2 separate regions of the Homo sapiens genome follow, and region 2 is linked to region 1. The links are contacts of gene promoters, found by promoter capture Hi-C in blood cells and fetal thymus (Javierre and others, 2016). All regions are on one chromosome and are shown on one strand. The core of a region is centred on a gene start or on the middle of the fragment in contact, and the rest is flanking DNA. Distances in the headings are between cores, read along the strand shown. Region 1 holds the start of LINC01801 (long intergenic non-protein coding RNA 1801). Region 2 overlaps ZNF30 (zinc finger protein 30).

What was found. The method cuts DNA at HindIII sites, captures the fragments that hold promoters and counts their contacts. A CHiCAGO score of 5 or more calls a contact.
Region 2: a contact is called between a fragment that was not itself captured here and the fragment with the promoter of LINC01801 in region 1, in 3 of 17 cell types (total CD4 T cells, naive CD8 T cells and naive CD4 T cells). The highest score is 5.6, in total CD4 T cells.

The regions. Positions count from the first base shown.
Region 1 is chr19:34,827,912-34,835,668 of GRCh38, reverse strand. LINC01801 (long intergenic non-protein coding RNA 1801) reads left to right here and starts at 2,800. Exons shown (of 6, transcript NR_033982.1): 1 at 2,800-2,944; 2 at 3,133-3,339; 3 at 5,143-5,263; 4 at 6,416-6,505. The HindIII fragment of the contact is 2,823 bases long and covers 2,473-5,295 here.
Region 2 is chr19:34,941,707-34,949,463 of GRCh38, reverse strand. ZNF30 (zinc finger protein 30) reads right to left here. Exons shown (of 5, transcript NM_194325.3): 5 at 4,296-6,241. The coding sequence ends at 4,626. Among named protein-coding and RNA genes, the nearest start is that of ZNF792, 19 kb to the left of the region's middle. The HindIII fragment of the contact is 4,924 bases long and covers 838-5,761 here.

The DNA of each region.
Region 1 (7,757 bases), core at 1,551-4,050:
ACTGCTCCTCCCGGCTGACCATCTTCCCATTCTCTGCCGTGCCCCTACCTTAACATTGTTTTCTAAATGAACCTTTTTCATGTTTAAAAACTGTTATAACAGTTAGAAAGAAAATCTGGCCTTCTCTGCCATTATTATGGCCAATTGCATCTACGTAGCAAAATCTGTTTATAAAACAATGATTTTAGAATGATATTCTTTCTACCTTTGCTTCGTTTTTTTCAAATCAAGTTTTGGAGGTAAAATTCAGCAATTTCAGCGGCTGCTGAGAAAAAAATTCAGAGTCAGGACCTGCCAATGAAGAGGGTCCCCAAAAAATACTCAGGTTTTCATGTAAAACGTCTGAAAGCCAGTATCCCAGAAATAAGGATAACAGGAGAGAGCCAGCCTTCAAAAAGAGTGAAGCATGGCTCTGACTTACATTAATCTCAGAATAAAGTGTGCTTTCCCATCCTAGCTGCCTTCTACATCCAAAGGTAAATCCCTTCAGAGGATTTATAGTAGCATCAATAAACATGAAATAAATCTACAAAAGACATGCAAATCGACAGGAGAATTCCAGAGCTAAATGTGAAAAGTTAAGCAATAAACCTCATAGTAGGCATCACTGAAAATTTCCATGATATTGGAAGTGATGCTGGGCAGGCAAGCCCAAATTGGGGCTTAGCTTGGGAGGGTTCTTTGCTTCACCCAGCAAAGGATTCAAGGGTGAGCTGGTGGTGGAAGAAGACAGCTCTATTGAAGAGGCAGTGTTACAGCTCTGTGACTGCTCCTGCAGAGCACGGTTACTCTATCGGCAGGGCGCAGAGAGCAGCAGCTCAGGGCAGTTCTGCAGTCATATTTACATCTACTTTTAATTGCATGCAGATTAAGGGGTGGTTTATGCTGAAATTTCTAGGAAAAGGGTAGTAACTTCTGGGTCATTGGGTCATTGCCATGGAAAGGAGCAGTAATTCCTGCATGTTGCCATGACAAATGTAAACTGACATAGCACACTGGTGGGTGTGTCTGATGGAAAGCTGCTTCCACCCTGACCCTGTTTTAGCTAGTCCTCAATTTGCTCCAGTGTCCAAGCCCCGGCTCTGGAGTCGAGTCCTGCGTCCTACCTCAGAAGTAGTCGAAAACATACACATGAATGTTCACAGCAGCATTATTTCTTTCTTTTTTTTTTTTAAAGAGAGATGGGGGTCTCACTATGTTGGCCAGGTTGGTCTTGAACTCTTGGTCTCAAGCAATCCTCCCTCCTCAGTCTCCCAAACTGCTAGGATTACAGGCATGAGCCACTACACCTAGCCACAGTAGCATTATTATTTCTAATAGCCAAACATCCATCAATAATAGAATGGGTAAATTATATTTGTTCAATGGAACATCACACAGCAATATAAAAGAATAAAGTGCTGCTAAAAGCAACAACATGGATGAATTTTATGAAGTGTTGAATGAAAAGACACAGCCACAAACAGGACACATGGTAGGGTTCCATTTATATAAAGTTTTTAAATAGGCAAAACTAATCTATAATGTTAAAAATTTGGGAGGGGCATAGTGACTAGGAATGAGCATGAGGTTGATTCTGAGGTGCCTGTGTTTTGCTTCTTGATCTAGATTACATAGGTTTGTTCATTCTGCAAAAATGTATTGAGGAATAGACAGATGATTTGTACACTTCTGTGTATGAATGTTATATTGTAAAGTTTCTTGAAGAATACCTGTTTACAAGAGTTAGAGAACATGGAAGCTCTTTCTCTGAGATAAAACATCTAAAAAGACAAAAATTAGCCGGGCGTGGTGGTGGGTGCCTGTAATCCCAGCTACTCGGGAGGCTGAGGCAGGAGAATGTCTTGAACCCGGGAGACAGAGGTTCTAGTGAACCAAGATCACACCACTGCACTCCAGCCTGGATGACAGAGGAAGACTCTGAGACTCCGTCACAAAAAAGAAAAAACAAACAAACAAACAAACAAAAAAGCCCTAAGTCATATCATGCCAGTCTCAGCAGTTTGAAACCCTCCATGGTTCCCATCTCTCAGTAAAAGGCAACGTTCTTATGACATCCTTCAAGGCCCCATGTAGTCTTTTGGTCCCTCTCCATCTCTGTCCTCCTGTCATCCACGTCTCCCACGTGCTGATTGGGTCTGGTAGGGTGACTGGGTGGCAAAGACCTCACAGAGGTGCCTTTCTGCTCAGGTGGCAAACAGGAGAGTCTATCTGGGCCCTGCAGGATGGATCCTTCCTGAGTCACTGAATATATTGGAGGTGCAGACAGCGCCAGAGAAAGGCATTGAGCCTGCCAGATCAGACACCGCCTCTTAGGGTCGACGGAACACCCAGGAGCAAAGACCAGAAATTGTGGGAGAAAGGCCTGGAAGGGGGCCGGGGAGAGGCACAGAGACAGCGAGGTGATGCAGGCTTGGTGGGAGCGGGTATGGTAGGCAATGGGGGACAGAGGGGCAGGGCACAGACAAAGCTTGCTGAAGATATGAAGAGCAATTGTGAGCCGGCGAATCCTTGGAGTAGAGGAGAAAATTGAGGTCTCCTGTTCAGCCCGATGCAGGTGAGATGCTGTTGGAACACGTGACAGAGAAAGGGTGTGTGAGCCCAGGGCTTGTGCACTAAGCGCACAGGAGCGAAGGGGGCGAGAAGAAAAAACGACGCCCAGCAAAGAGCGTCAAGGCCCAACCGCCTGCCCCCAACCGGTCTCTAGCGCCTCGTGACCTTCTGCACTCCGTTGCAGGCGTTTGGCACCAGATGGTCCCACGCGCTCTGTTCGACGGTTGGGGGCCGCGGACGCTGGTTGTCAGCAGCACTGGGTCAGCCGGTGAACGGGTGTGCAGCGTCCTCAGCGCCGCAGCAGTCAGCACCTGTGGGTGCTCTAGCTCTTTCCCTCGGGGTCACCGGAGGCAGAGCCTCCCCTACGCGGAGTAGAGGAGCAGCTCACATGGTGCGGGGGTGGGGATCGGGCTTCCTGGAAGGCTGGAAATGGGAGTTGGGATAAGGGGTTGGCGAGGGCGGGGCGGCACCGTCTACCGGGGTGACCGGTGTGCCCTGGCAGCCAGGGAGTCTGCTGCAGGGCAGGTATTAAGATTCGGAGAGACATAGGACAAAGAACCCTCGGCCTCTTCTTTTCAGGCAGCCGCCACAGAGGACACCAGATCATGCCAACACCCCCACAACTCCTGCCCGCCTGCAGGCAGCTCTGGGCTCAGGACACCGCCTGCAAGAACCTTTATAGCGCAGCTCTCCAAACCTTGGAGGCGAGGACATTCTATGTGCCCGCCCTGGAAAGGCCTGAACCTATAACATCTGGGCTGTGATGGTTTCTGAGGTGGACACCAGGTATTCTAAACTGCCCACATGCTTCACCCCAAAACTTCCCTTTCTAACAGGCAGTGTATTTTCACTTCTTTTAAAATATTTGGTAAAACAGCATTTAAGCCTTAGAAAGTTCCCCATCTCACCCCAGCCAGGGTTTGAACCCATGCTGTCTGATTCCACAGATCATGCATTTAACCACCAGACTTTGGTGTAGCCTCACCGTGTGTGCATAATGGATTACACTTGTTTATAATACTTGGGGTGCTTAGCACCATGTCAGAGCTGTAATGAGTACTTGCACTGTTAGGAGGTCTAACATGGTTCAATTTATAAGTGGACCATTGGCCACACCGGGTCTGGCTCAGTCTCCTGGGAGGATGTAGGCAGGGACCACCAATTATCAGCATATCTCCATGATGAATTTCTCCAGACAGCGTATCACTCTGTCACACAGGCTGGAGTCACAGCTCACTGCAACCTCGAACTCCTGGGCTCAAGAGATCCTCCCACCTCAGCTTCCCAAGTAGCTGAGACTGCAGGCATGCGCCACCACGCCTGATAATTTCTCTTCTAATTGAGCTTTGCAGAAAGCCACACAGCTGTCTGAGAGCTATTTTCTCCCAGGTATAGGGACAGGAAATGGCACCTCAGACTTCTGCAGATTCCACCCTGGCTTAAAAGCCCATGCCCCCAAGGACACCAATCTTTCTTACAATAACATAGACTATCTTTCAGGGTCCTGGCCAAGATGGACAACTTGCCAATATTAACTTTTCCAGGCCACAGGGATGATATATATCTCCATAGATTTAGGTCTTGAGTATTTTCTCCTAGAAATATTTCGCAGCAAGGGTCAGCACTGCAGCCTATGGGCCAACAAATTTAGCCTGTAGCCTACATGTAAGGCCAGTGAGTGAAGGATCCTATTAACAATTTTAAAGAGTTGCAGCAGAATACACAGAAACACAAAGAGTCTGTGTCACAGACAACGTGACCCACAAAGGCTATGCTACTTATTAGGCTGGTGCAAAAGTAATTGTGGTTTTTGCCATTACTTTCAAACCGCAATTACTTTTGTACCAACCTCATACTATCTGGCTTTTTAAGAGAAAATTTGCAACTGTTTTGCAGTTGTCTGTGCATAGATCTTCCACAGCTTTTGCTAATTTATTTCTAAGTATTCTATGGGGTTTGTAAATGCTATTGTAAATGGAATCTTTTAAATTTTAATTTTTGATAGTTCATTGGTAGAATATAGGTAATACATATAATACAGTCCAGTGTCGCTTTAACAATGGGAATACCTTCTGAGAAATGCATCATTAGGTGATTTTCGTCATTGTGCAAACATCATAGACTGTACCTACACAAACCTAGATGGTATAATTGACTATACTCCTAGGCCATATGGTATAGCCTGTAGCTACAAACCTGTACGGCATATACTGAATTTGAGGCAATTGTAACACAACGTTAAGTCTTTGTGTATCTAAATATATCTAAACACAGAAAAGAAACAGTAACAATGTCATATTATCTTATGGGAACACTGTCGTATATGCAGTTCATTGTTGACCAAAACCTTGTTATGAGGTGCATGACTGTGTATGTACATAAATGTATATATGCATACATATTGAGTTTGTATATTGAACCTCACTGAAATCGCTTTTGATTTCAGGTAGTTTCTTTGCAGATTCCATAGGATTTTCTACATACACAATAATGTTTCTAGGAATCATGTTTCTGTGAATAAAGCTAGTTTTCCTTCTGTTGTAATCTACATGCTTTTTATTTCTCTTTATTTCCTTCTGTATTTGCCAGGACCAACACTTGTCAGCATGGCACAATCAGGCATTTCTCTTCTAAGTAGGATGTGCAGCCAAAAACTCAGCTGTCTGTGAGCTGTCTTCTCCCAGGAACGAGGACATAAGATGTACATCAGGTAGATACAAGATCCATGCTAGCTTAAAAGCTTTATGCCCCAAGGGCACCAATATCACTTGCAATAATTCCATAGGCCAGCTGTCAGGGCCCTGGGTGAGATTGATAATTGACCAATATCAACTTCCCTAGCCCCTGAAAATGATGATGATGATGGGGTGTGTGTGTGTGTGTGTGTGTGTGTGTGTGTGTGTGTGTGTGTGTACTCACGTACTATATACATATATTGGCATATAGTAGTATATGGACAAAACAACTGCTTTTGATATATTTACTTTTGTATTGAAACCTTGCTCATTTTCTATTTACATTTTGTAGTTTCTTTGTAGATTCTTTAGTGTTTTTTTTTTTTTAGTCTTGCTGTATCCCCCCTAGGCTGGAGTACAGTGGTGCAATCTCAGCTCCCTGCATCCTCTGCCTCCTGGGTTCAAGCGATTCTCTTGCCTCAGCCTCCTGAGTAGCTGGGATTATAGGCATGTGCCACCATGCCCAGCTAATTTTTGTTTTTTTAGTAGAGACCAGGTTTCACCATATTGGCCAGGCTGGTCTTGAACTCCTGACCTCAGGTGATCTGCCCACCTCGGCCTGCCAAAGTGCTGTGATTACAAGTGTGAACCACTGTGCCCAGCCCTCTTTCAGATGTTCTACATAGACAAACGTTTTCTGTGCTTAAAGGCACTTTTCTTTCTTCTCTTTTAATCTCTATGCCTTTTATTAATTTTTCTTATCTTCTACATTTGCTGCAACATCCAGGAAACTATCAAATACAAGAAGAGACAATGGATATTCTTTCCCAGTTCCTAATCATAGGTTAAGAGTATTCAGTATGGTATTAACTGAAGATTTTTTGTAGATATGCTTTATCACAGAAATGAATTCTCTCGAATTCCTGCTTTACTTAGAATGTTTTTGGTAAGTGGTGTGAGACCCACAGCTATTGAGATCACCATAGGACATTTCTCTTTTATTCTCTTAATATGATGAATTACATTGATTGATTTTTAGGTGTTAAATGAATCTTTGCCTTCCTGGGGAAAAACTTACTTAGTCACAAAAGATCATCTTTTTATATTTGGTTTTCCTAAAGTGTTGCCAAAGACTTTTGTGTCTATGTTATGAGCGATATTAATCTGTAATTTTCTCTTCTTGTTAGGTTTTGATATTAGAGTAATACTGGCCTTATAGAATGAGTTACGAAAAGTTGCCCCTTTCTCCACTTTCTGAAAGAGTTTGTGTAACACAGGTAAAATATTGTTCTTACACATTTGATAGAATTCACCTGAAAAACCGTCTGGAACTGCATATTTTTTCTTAGAGGATGTTTATAATTCCCCATTACCCTTTTAATGTCTTTCAGATCTGACTCATGCCCTTCCCTTTTTATTCCTAATATTGGTAATTTGAGTTTTCTCTTTGTTATTTCTTCTTCAATCTTGATAGAGGTTTCTCCATTTTATTACACTTTATAATTTCTATATTATATATAGAAATGTCTATAAATAGAAATTAATAGAATTAATGTGTCTCTATCATTTCTATTTCCGTGTCTATTTTTATTATTTCTTCTTTTCCATTCATTTTATATTTAATTTATTCCTTGATTCTTCTACTCAGGGTAGAAACCTAAATCATTGTTTCTTAAAATGTTTCTGTTTTAAACATAAACGCTTAAAGCTGCCACACTTTAGCTGTCTATCACAAATTTTGATTTGCTGTGTTTTGCTTATTCAGTCCAAAATATTTTATATTTTTCCTTGTTATTTTTTAATATATTGATTATATAAAAGTGTGTCTTGCTTTCATTCTAAATATGAATATGAGTATTTTAAATATTTAACTATTTAAATTTAATATTTATTATAGTATTTATTTATTTAATATTTAATCTGTAAATTTTAGGATTTTGTAGATATCATATTGTAGATATCTACAATTTTGTAGATAGATCTACAAAAATTCTATTGTGATCAGAGAAAACATATTAATCTCAAAATTATTAAGATTTATTTTTTGGCCCAATCTTAATGAACATTCCATGTGCTCTTGAAAAGAAACATGTGTTCAGCTGGTGTTGGGTTATATGTTTTACAAATACCAATAAAGTCAAGTTACAACTTCTGTAATCTTACTTTTTATTAAATTAACAAACTTTATTTTAGAACAGTATTAGTTTCACAGAAAAATTGAGGAGAAAGTGCAGTGTGTTCTCGTGTATCTTCTCCACCCGTACGTACACAGTTTATCCTGTTACTAACAACTTGGATTCATGTGGTACATTTGTTACAATTAATGATCCAATATTAATATATTAACTAAAGTCTATAGTACACATTATGGTTAACTCTACCTGTCATACAGTTCTGTGGTTTTTGACAATTGCATAATGTCATGTACCCATACTGTAGCATCATACAGAATAGTTTCACTACCCCAAAAATCTCCTGTGCTCCATGTAATCCCTTCCTCCCCCAAACTCCTAGCAACCACTGATCTTT
Region 2 (7,757 bases), core at 2,050-4,549, 110 kb before region 1:
TCTTGCCTATTTTAAAAGTAAATATTAGTTGATATTGAAATAGTAAAGAAATTTTTTGGAACTGCAGTCATTTATTAATAATGCCAGTGACTTATTTGTTTTGTAGGGTAATTTTGAATATTGGAAGAATATTTCCTCAAAATTTTGTGCTGTTCACAATGGGAAACTAGAGACATGAAACACTTTTAAGTTTAATCTGAATTATTAACATATTCTCTGCTTTCTTAAGTCTACCTGGTCAATAAAACAACAGATCAAGTTCTGGTTTGTAGTGTTTACCAATACCCTAGGTGTAAATACTTCTGTCTTGGCCAATTTCAAGCTACAACATGATGTCTCTGAATATGGAGTTGGGAAGATATGTGCAATAGCACGCCATTGTATTCTGTTTCCACTGAATAGATGCAATAAACGTAAATAACCTCTAAAGCATAGATAATAGTAAAATAATTAGGAAATGAGGATTTTTTTAAGTATTTTTTTTTCTTTTTAGAAAAACAGCTTTATTGAAGTCTAAACTACACATATTTCACAGGTACAAGTTTTGGTACATGTTTATAGCCATGAAATTAAAGGTTTTCTTGGGCTCTTTGTAATCTCTTCCTCCTTATCCACCTACCCGTCTTTAGGAAACCACTGATCTGCTTTCTGTCACTCTACATTTGTTTACATATTTTAGAATATTACATTAATCTGGAAGCAGCTTAGGTAGGTCAAGGTTGAGAATCCCCCATGAAATTGCAGTTAAGCTGTCTCTGGAGCTACAGTCTCAGGAAACTTGCTGGAGGCTGGAAGATTCAATTCTAATCTCTTTTCCATGGCAGTTGACAGGAAGCTTTAGTTCCTTGCCACATGGATCTCTCCATAGGGATGCTCGTCACAGGGATTCTTTCAAACAGAGAAAGTGATCCAAGAGCAGGAGAGTCTACCCAAGAAGGAGACCAGTGTCTTCAATAACCTAAAATTGGAAGTTACATGTTCTCATGTTTTCTGTTTTATACGGGCTTTACAGATCAACCCTTGTAAAATGTGTGAGGGGTACCCAAGGGTAAGAATTCCAGGAAGTAGAGATTTGGGGTTCTTTTTAGAGTTTACCTGCTACAATCACGTTTTACCTTGTTTTAAAGTCTTTTTTTTTTTTTTTTTTTTTTTTTTTTTTTTTTTTTTGAGACAGAGTTTCAGTCTTGTTGCCCAGGCTGGAGTGCAACGGCACGGTCTTGGCTCACCGCAACCTCCGCCTCCCAGGTTCAAGTGATTCTCCTGCCTCAGCCTCCTGAGTAGCTGGGATTACAGGCATCCGCCACCACGCCTGGCTAATTTTGTATTTTTAGTAGAGATGGGGTTTCTCCATGTTAGTCAGGCTGGTCTCAAACTCCCGACCTCAAGTGATCCGCTTGCCTCAGCCTCCCAAAGTGCTGGGATTACAGGCGTGAGCCACTGGGGCACCTGGCCTTAAAGTCTTTTAATGGTAAATTGCATTGATTTTCAAATATCAAGTGAACTTTTATATTTTGAGGGTAAATCTACATTTTCTTGATGTGTTATCCTTTTTTTGTATTGTTGGGTTTGATTTGCCAAAATTTTGTTGAAGTTTCTATACCTATGTTCATGAAGGATATTGATCTGCGGTTTTCTTGTAATGCCTTTGTGTGGTTTTGGTATCACTATAATAGCTTCACCAATTAAGTTGGAAAGCATTCCTTATGCTTCCACTTTTTTGGAAGAGTTTCTGCATTCTTAGGTTTTCTTCCCTAAATGTTTGGTAGAATATACCACTGAAGCCATTTAAGCCACAGTTTGCTTTGTAGGAAGGTTTCTAATTACAAATCTGATTTTAAAAATAAATATAGGGATATACATTTTTATTTTTCTTAAGTGAACTTTAGTGGTTTGTGTCTTCAAAGAGAGTTTGTTCATTTTATTTTATTTCCCAGATTTATTGGCATAAATGGGTTCATGATTTTCCTTTCAATATCTGTAGAATCTGTCATGTCTCTCATTCCCAATCTGGGTAATTTATGTGCTTCTTTGTAACTTGATAATCCTTGGCTAGAGGTTTATCAGTTGTATTGTTCTTAAGGCTTTTGGTTTCACTGATTTTCTTCACAGTTCATTCTGTTTATTTCATTGACTTCCATTTTAATCTTTATTATATACTCTCTTCTGCTCATTTTGCATTTCTCTTCGTTAGTTTTTTAATGTGGAAACTGATACTCTTATTTTTGGATATTTTTTCTTTTGTTTAATGGGTTTACCTAGGGTAAACCTAGCCTTCAGTTCTGACAATTTTCTCCTGTATTTTCTTCTGAACATTTTGTACTTTTATATTTTATATTTTAGTCTGTGATCCATTTTGAGTGAATTTGTGTTTAAAGTATGGGATTAAGTTGATGTTCACATCTTTTGTCTATGGACGTTCAATTGCTCCAGCATTATTTGCTGAAAAGCCTTATCTGCCTTCATTTATTTGCTTTTACTTGTTTTTCAAAAATCAGTTGGTTATATTTCTTTGCACGTTTCTGGGTTATCTATTCTGTTCTTTAGACCTATGTTGTTTATCCCTCCCCAGTACCACAGTGTCTTGTATCCTTAGCTATATAATAACCCATAACATCAGACAGGGTGATTCCCCCCAGCAGTCTTTAAAATGTGTCCACATTGACATCGACAGACACATTTGTTAGCGCCCTAAGAGATCCCTTCACTGTCAAGGCTTTGGCAACCTCTTCTCATGTGTCCTTGAGTCTCTAGACCACCTCTGATGGCCAGAAGTTTCCCAAGGGCTTCTGATACAAGAAACTGCCCTTCTCAAAATCATGCTATGCCTCCATTAAAACAAACTGACTAGCTACATACTAGGCTCTTCTAGAAATAGAGACTTTCACAGACCTAATACTTAGCTGCCCATTTGTTTTGAGTCAAGAAACAGCAACCTACAAACTTGGCATGGCTACCGAGGCCTCCTTAATACAGGATAGAGCCAAATCTGGGCCCTCTGGCGTATTCCATCTACAGGAGAGGTGGTCTCCTTTGTCCTCAGTCTCTTGCCACATGCCATGGTACTGGAAGAAGTCACCCCCTCTCCTAGACTGGTTGGCTACCTGGGGAGACCCTTGGGATTAACTAAGTAAACAGCAATAGCAGTTTGCAGACTGTATGAACGACACTGCCAACCATCATAAATATTGATTTTTTGTGTGTTGTTTTTTAAATTAGTGGAATCTTGCTACTTTGCATCTTAGACAGGATGTCCCCAGCAGTCAACACAATTGGCCAAACTTCAGGCAGTCATCTTAGCACTGGATGACCTGGTCAACAAATGGCCTCATCTTCACATTTATTGCAAACTATTGGGCCATTGCCTAAGAGTTGTGCACTTCAGAGTAAAAACTCTAGCAATCTCCTACCTTACAGATACCTAAAATATAAACGTAAATCACACATGTCTCTAGATATACTATGGCCACAATACAAGGCCAAATAACTCCTTATTTCCTTCAGTGTTAGATATTACTGATAATAACAAAGGCATACATTTCCCTTCCCAGAATACACAATTCTGGGTTCTCGGTAAAGCTATCCAATGGAACTCTCATGTCCCTGATAGGTGCCAGATAGCCAATTTATTCTATTTTACTTGTTATTTTTTTGTGGAGACAGAGTCTCTTTACATTGCCCAGGCTGATCTCGAGCTCCTGGGCTCAAGTGAACCTCCCACCTCAGCCTCCCGACCTCCCATTTGAACTGTGCCCAGCTCAGATGCCCAGTTTAATTGAGGTCTCAATTTTTCTCTTTTTCTTTGAGACAGAGTCTAGCTCTGTCACCAGGCTGAAGTGCAGTGGCATGATCTTGGCTCACTGCAAGCTCCACCTCCCAGGTTTATGCCTTTCTCCTGTCTCAGCCTCCTGAGTAGCTGGGACTACAGGTGCCCGCCACCACACCCAGCTATTTTTTTTTGTATTTTTAGTGGAGATGGGGGTTTCACCGTGTTAGCCAGGATGGTCTTGATCTCCTGACCTCGTGATCCGCCTGCCTCAGCCTCCCAAAGTGCTGGGATTACAGGCTTCAGCCACCAAGCCTGGCTTTTTTTTTTTTTTTTTAATAAGAATGTAGGTTCTATTATCACCATTTTAAAACAATGCTGTAAGGTGATAAGTGTAGTGCCTAATATCTAACTGGCTGCAAGGCAGTGGAATAACAATGATGATAGTTAACGTGAGTGCCATGGCTAAAGGCTTTCATTACATTGTTAACTGGTTTTAAAAAATAATGAATTATTTGAAGTTCAGCAGTGGTTTAGGAGGTCCAAGGTTTTTTATTCACTTGTTCATACAATCACATTAGAATAAATGCATCATATAAAAGTTCATGCTGTCAGTGCTGTAACCATTAAGTAATAACGTTTCCCACTTTTTCTGAATGGTCCACCAGTATAAATATTGGTATTACAAACCTATAAATGACAAAGGAATATTCTTATGTTTTCTGAGTTATATTATGAATTATAAGATGAGAATAGACCTGCCAATATTCTTCACATTTGAAAGTTTCCTACCAGCATAAATTCCCCGATGTTCAACAATGTTTGAGCCACACACGAAGCACTTCCCACACTCCTCAGACTCTTAGGGTATAACACTCATATGTTTTCTCAGATGCACTTTAAGGGCTGAACTGTATCTAAAGGTCTTCCCACATTTTTTGCATTTAAAGGGTTTCTCACCAGTGTGTACCCGCTGATGTTCAGTAAGGAATGAATTAAGTCTAAAGGCCTTCCCGCATTCCTTACATTCAAAAGGTTTCTCACCAGTGTGAACACTCTGATGTCCAATAAGTTGTCCATAAACAGTAAAGGCTTTCCCACATTTGTTACATTCATAGGGTTTCTCCCCAGTATGAATTCTTTGATGCTGAACAAGGTATGAGCCAGAACTGAAGGCCTTGCCACACTCCTTACACTCATAGGGCTTCTTACCAGTATGGATTCTGCTATGTTGTACAAGGTACGAGGCTCGACTAAAAGTCTTTCCACATTCCTTACATTCATAGGGCTTTACATCAGTATGAATTTTCCGATGCTGTGTGAGATGTACGTGCACTCTGAAGGCCTTGCCACATTCCTTACACTCATAGGGTTTCTCTCCAGTATGAACCCTTTGATGTACGGTAAGCTGATGGCGACTAATAAAGGCTTTGCCACATTCCTTACATTCATAGGGTTTCTCCCCAGTATGGATCCTCTGATGCTGAACAAGGTATGAGCCAGTACTAAAGGCCTTGCCACACTCCTTACATTCATAGGGCTTCTCGCCAGTGTGAAGTCTTCCATGTTGAACAAGATATGAGGCACGACTGAAGGTTCTCCCGCATTCCTTGCATCCGTAGGGCTTTATCTCTGCATGAATTCGCTGATGTGCATGAAGGAAGGAACTAAGTCTAAAGGCCTTTCCACATTCCTTACATTCAAAAGGTTTCTCACCAGTATGAATACTCTGATGTCGAGTAAGCTGTCCATACACAGTGAAGGACTTCCCACACTCCTTACATTCATAGGGTTTCTCGCCAGTATGAATTCTCTGATGCTTAGCAAGGGGTGAGCTAGTGCTAAAGGCCTTCCCACATTCTTTGCATTCGTAAGGTTTTTCACTGGTATGAATTCGCTGATGTTGAACCAGGTATGAAAAGGTACTGAAGGCCTTCCCACACTCCTCACACCCAAAGGGTTTTTCACCAGTGTGAGTACTCTGATGCCGGGTAAGCTTTCCATATACTAGAAAAGCTTTCCCACATTCCCCGCACTCATATGGTTTCTTCCCAGTATGAATACTCTTATGTACTGTAAGTTGATAGCTACCACTAATAGTCTTTCCACATTGCTTACATTTGAGTGGCTTCTCACCAGTGTGAATTCTCCCATGCTTAACAAAGGCTGAGCCACTGATAAAGGCCTTCCCACATTTTTCATATTTATAGGGTTTCTCACCAACATGCAATCTCTGATGTATGGTGAGTTGATGTCCATTACTAAAGTTCTTCCCACATTCTTTACATCTGTTGGGTTTTTCACTACTATGTATTCTTTCATGTTGAACAGGCTTTGAGTCTTGACAAAGGGTCTTTCCATATTCCTGACATTCACGTGGTTTCTGTCTACTTATTTTCTGATGTAGAGCAAAAGATGGACAGTTTTCAGAGGTGGGCATTTCTTTACAGCCGATTGTATCATCTTCCAACTGCAAATCTGAAAGAAAATTTTAAAAATATCTTATTTTTCTATTTGAAAAAAAATTCTAGGGAAGAAAAGAGAAAAACTGAAAATAACACCAACTAGAAATAAATAGCTCAGTAATATTAAAACACCATTATGAAATTCAAAAAAAAAAAAAGGAATGCAGAGATTAACAAGTGTTTATGTAAAATAGTAAGGTTGGTGATTAGTGAAACAGTTTTCATTTAGGTGTGGATAATAATCTTTGAAGAGCCTGTTAAAAAATGGATGTTCAAGCAGCATCCCGCCCCTCTGAATCAGACATAGGGGAAGTTCCTGGACATCAATACTGTCAACCTTTCTAACAAATGTTTCTGATGCAGATGAAATTTTTATAATCCATATTTTATTGTTCCTTCTAGGGGTTTCTTGTGGCGCTTACATTAAAATCCATGTATCTTTCCACAGATAATATTGTCCCTGCTCACCTCTCAGACCTCATATCAAGACACAACTCCCTCTGTCCCATACTGACCTAATTTCCCCCTTTTAGCACCTTGACGTTCTTACAAATTTTCTCACCTTTTGGTTCCATGTGCAGGTGGCATCATCGCCTAAAAATCTTCTGGCATGTTTTGTTTGTAGACTGGAGCTTTCTTATCCTATCCATGTTTAAAATAAAATGTCACTTTATCAGGAATATGGTAAACTGCTAACTTTGTCTAAGGACGTCCATGTCTTTACTTTCTAGCACTTCATTCTTTGGTTTCCTACTGGTTTTCTTTTTCTTTTTTTCTTTTCTTTTTTTTTTTGGATAGGATCTCACTCTTGCCCCGGCTGGAGTGCAGTGGCACAACCACAGCTCAATGCAGCCTCAACCTCCCAGGCTCAGGTGATTCCCTCCCACCGCAGCCTCCTGGATAGCTGGGACTACAGGTGTGTGCCACCATGTCCAGCTAATTTTTTTGTAATTTTTATAGAGATGGGGTCTTGCCACATTGCCCAGGCTGGTCTCCAATTCCTAGGCTCAAGTCGTCCTCCCACTTCACCCTCCCAAAGTGCTGGGATTACAGGTGTGAGCCAATGAGTCCGGCCTTCTATACAAAAGAAATAATCGTAATAAAATATCTCCATACAAAGAATGATATTTTATAATTCCAATGAGAATTATCATTTGTTGTTAAAACCATGACAAGATATACTGCTAAACTGAATAAACGTGTACTTCTTGAGAATAAACTAAGATCACACAGATTATTGTTTAGTCACAAGGAGAAACATACTCAATAATGTGGGGTTGGACCATTATCACTGTAATCTAGTAAACAGTCTTTTAATGAGGAGCACGGCCAGACATTAGATATCTGCTGATAAGATACACATTGCCTCCTTTGATATATTGAGACAAAACTGTTTACCACCTTTTAAAATATTGCCATATTATTTGATAAGCCCATAGGACGAGATCACTGGGGTGGCCACTAAAGCACTGGGTTTGTACACAAAAACCAACTGCAAAACTGGATTAGATATGTTAACTCACTGAACT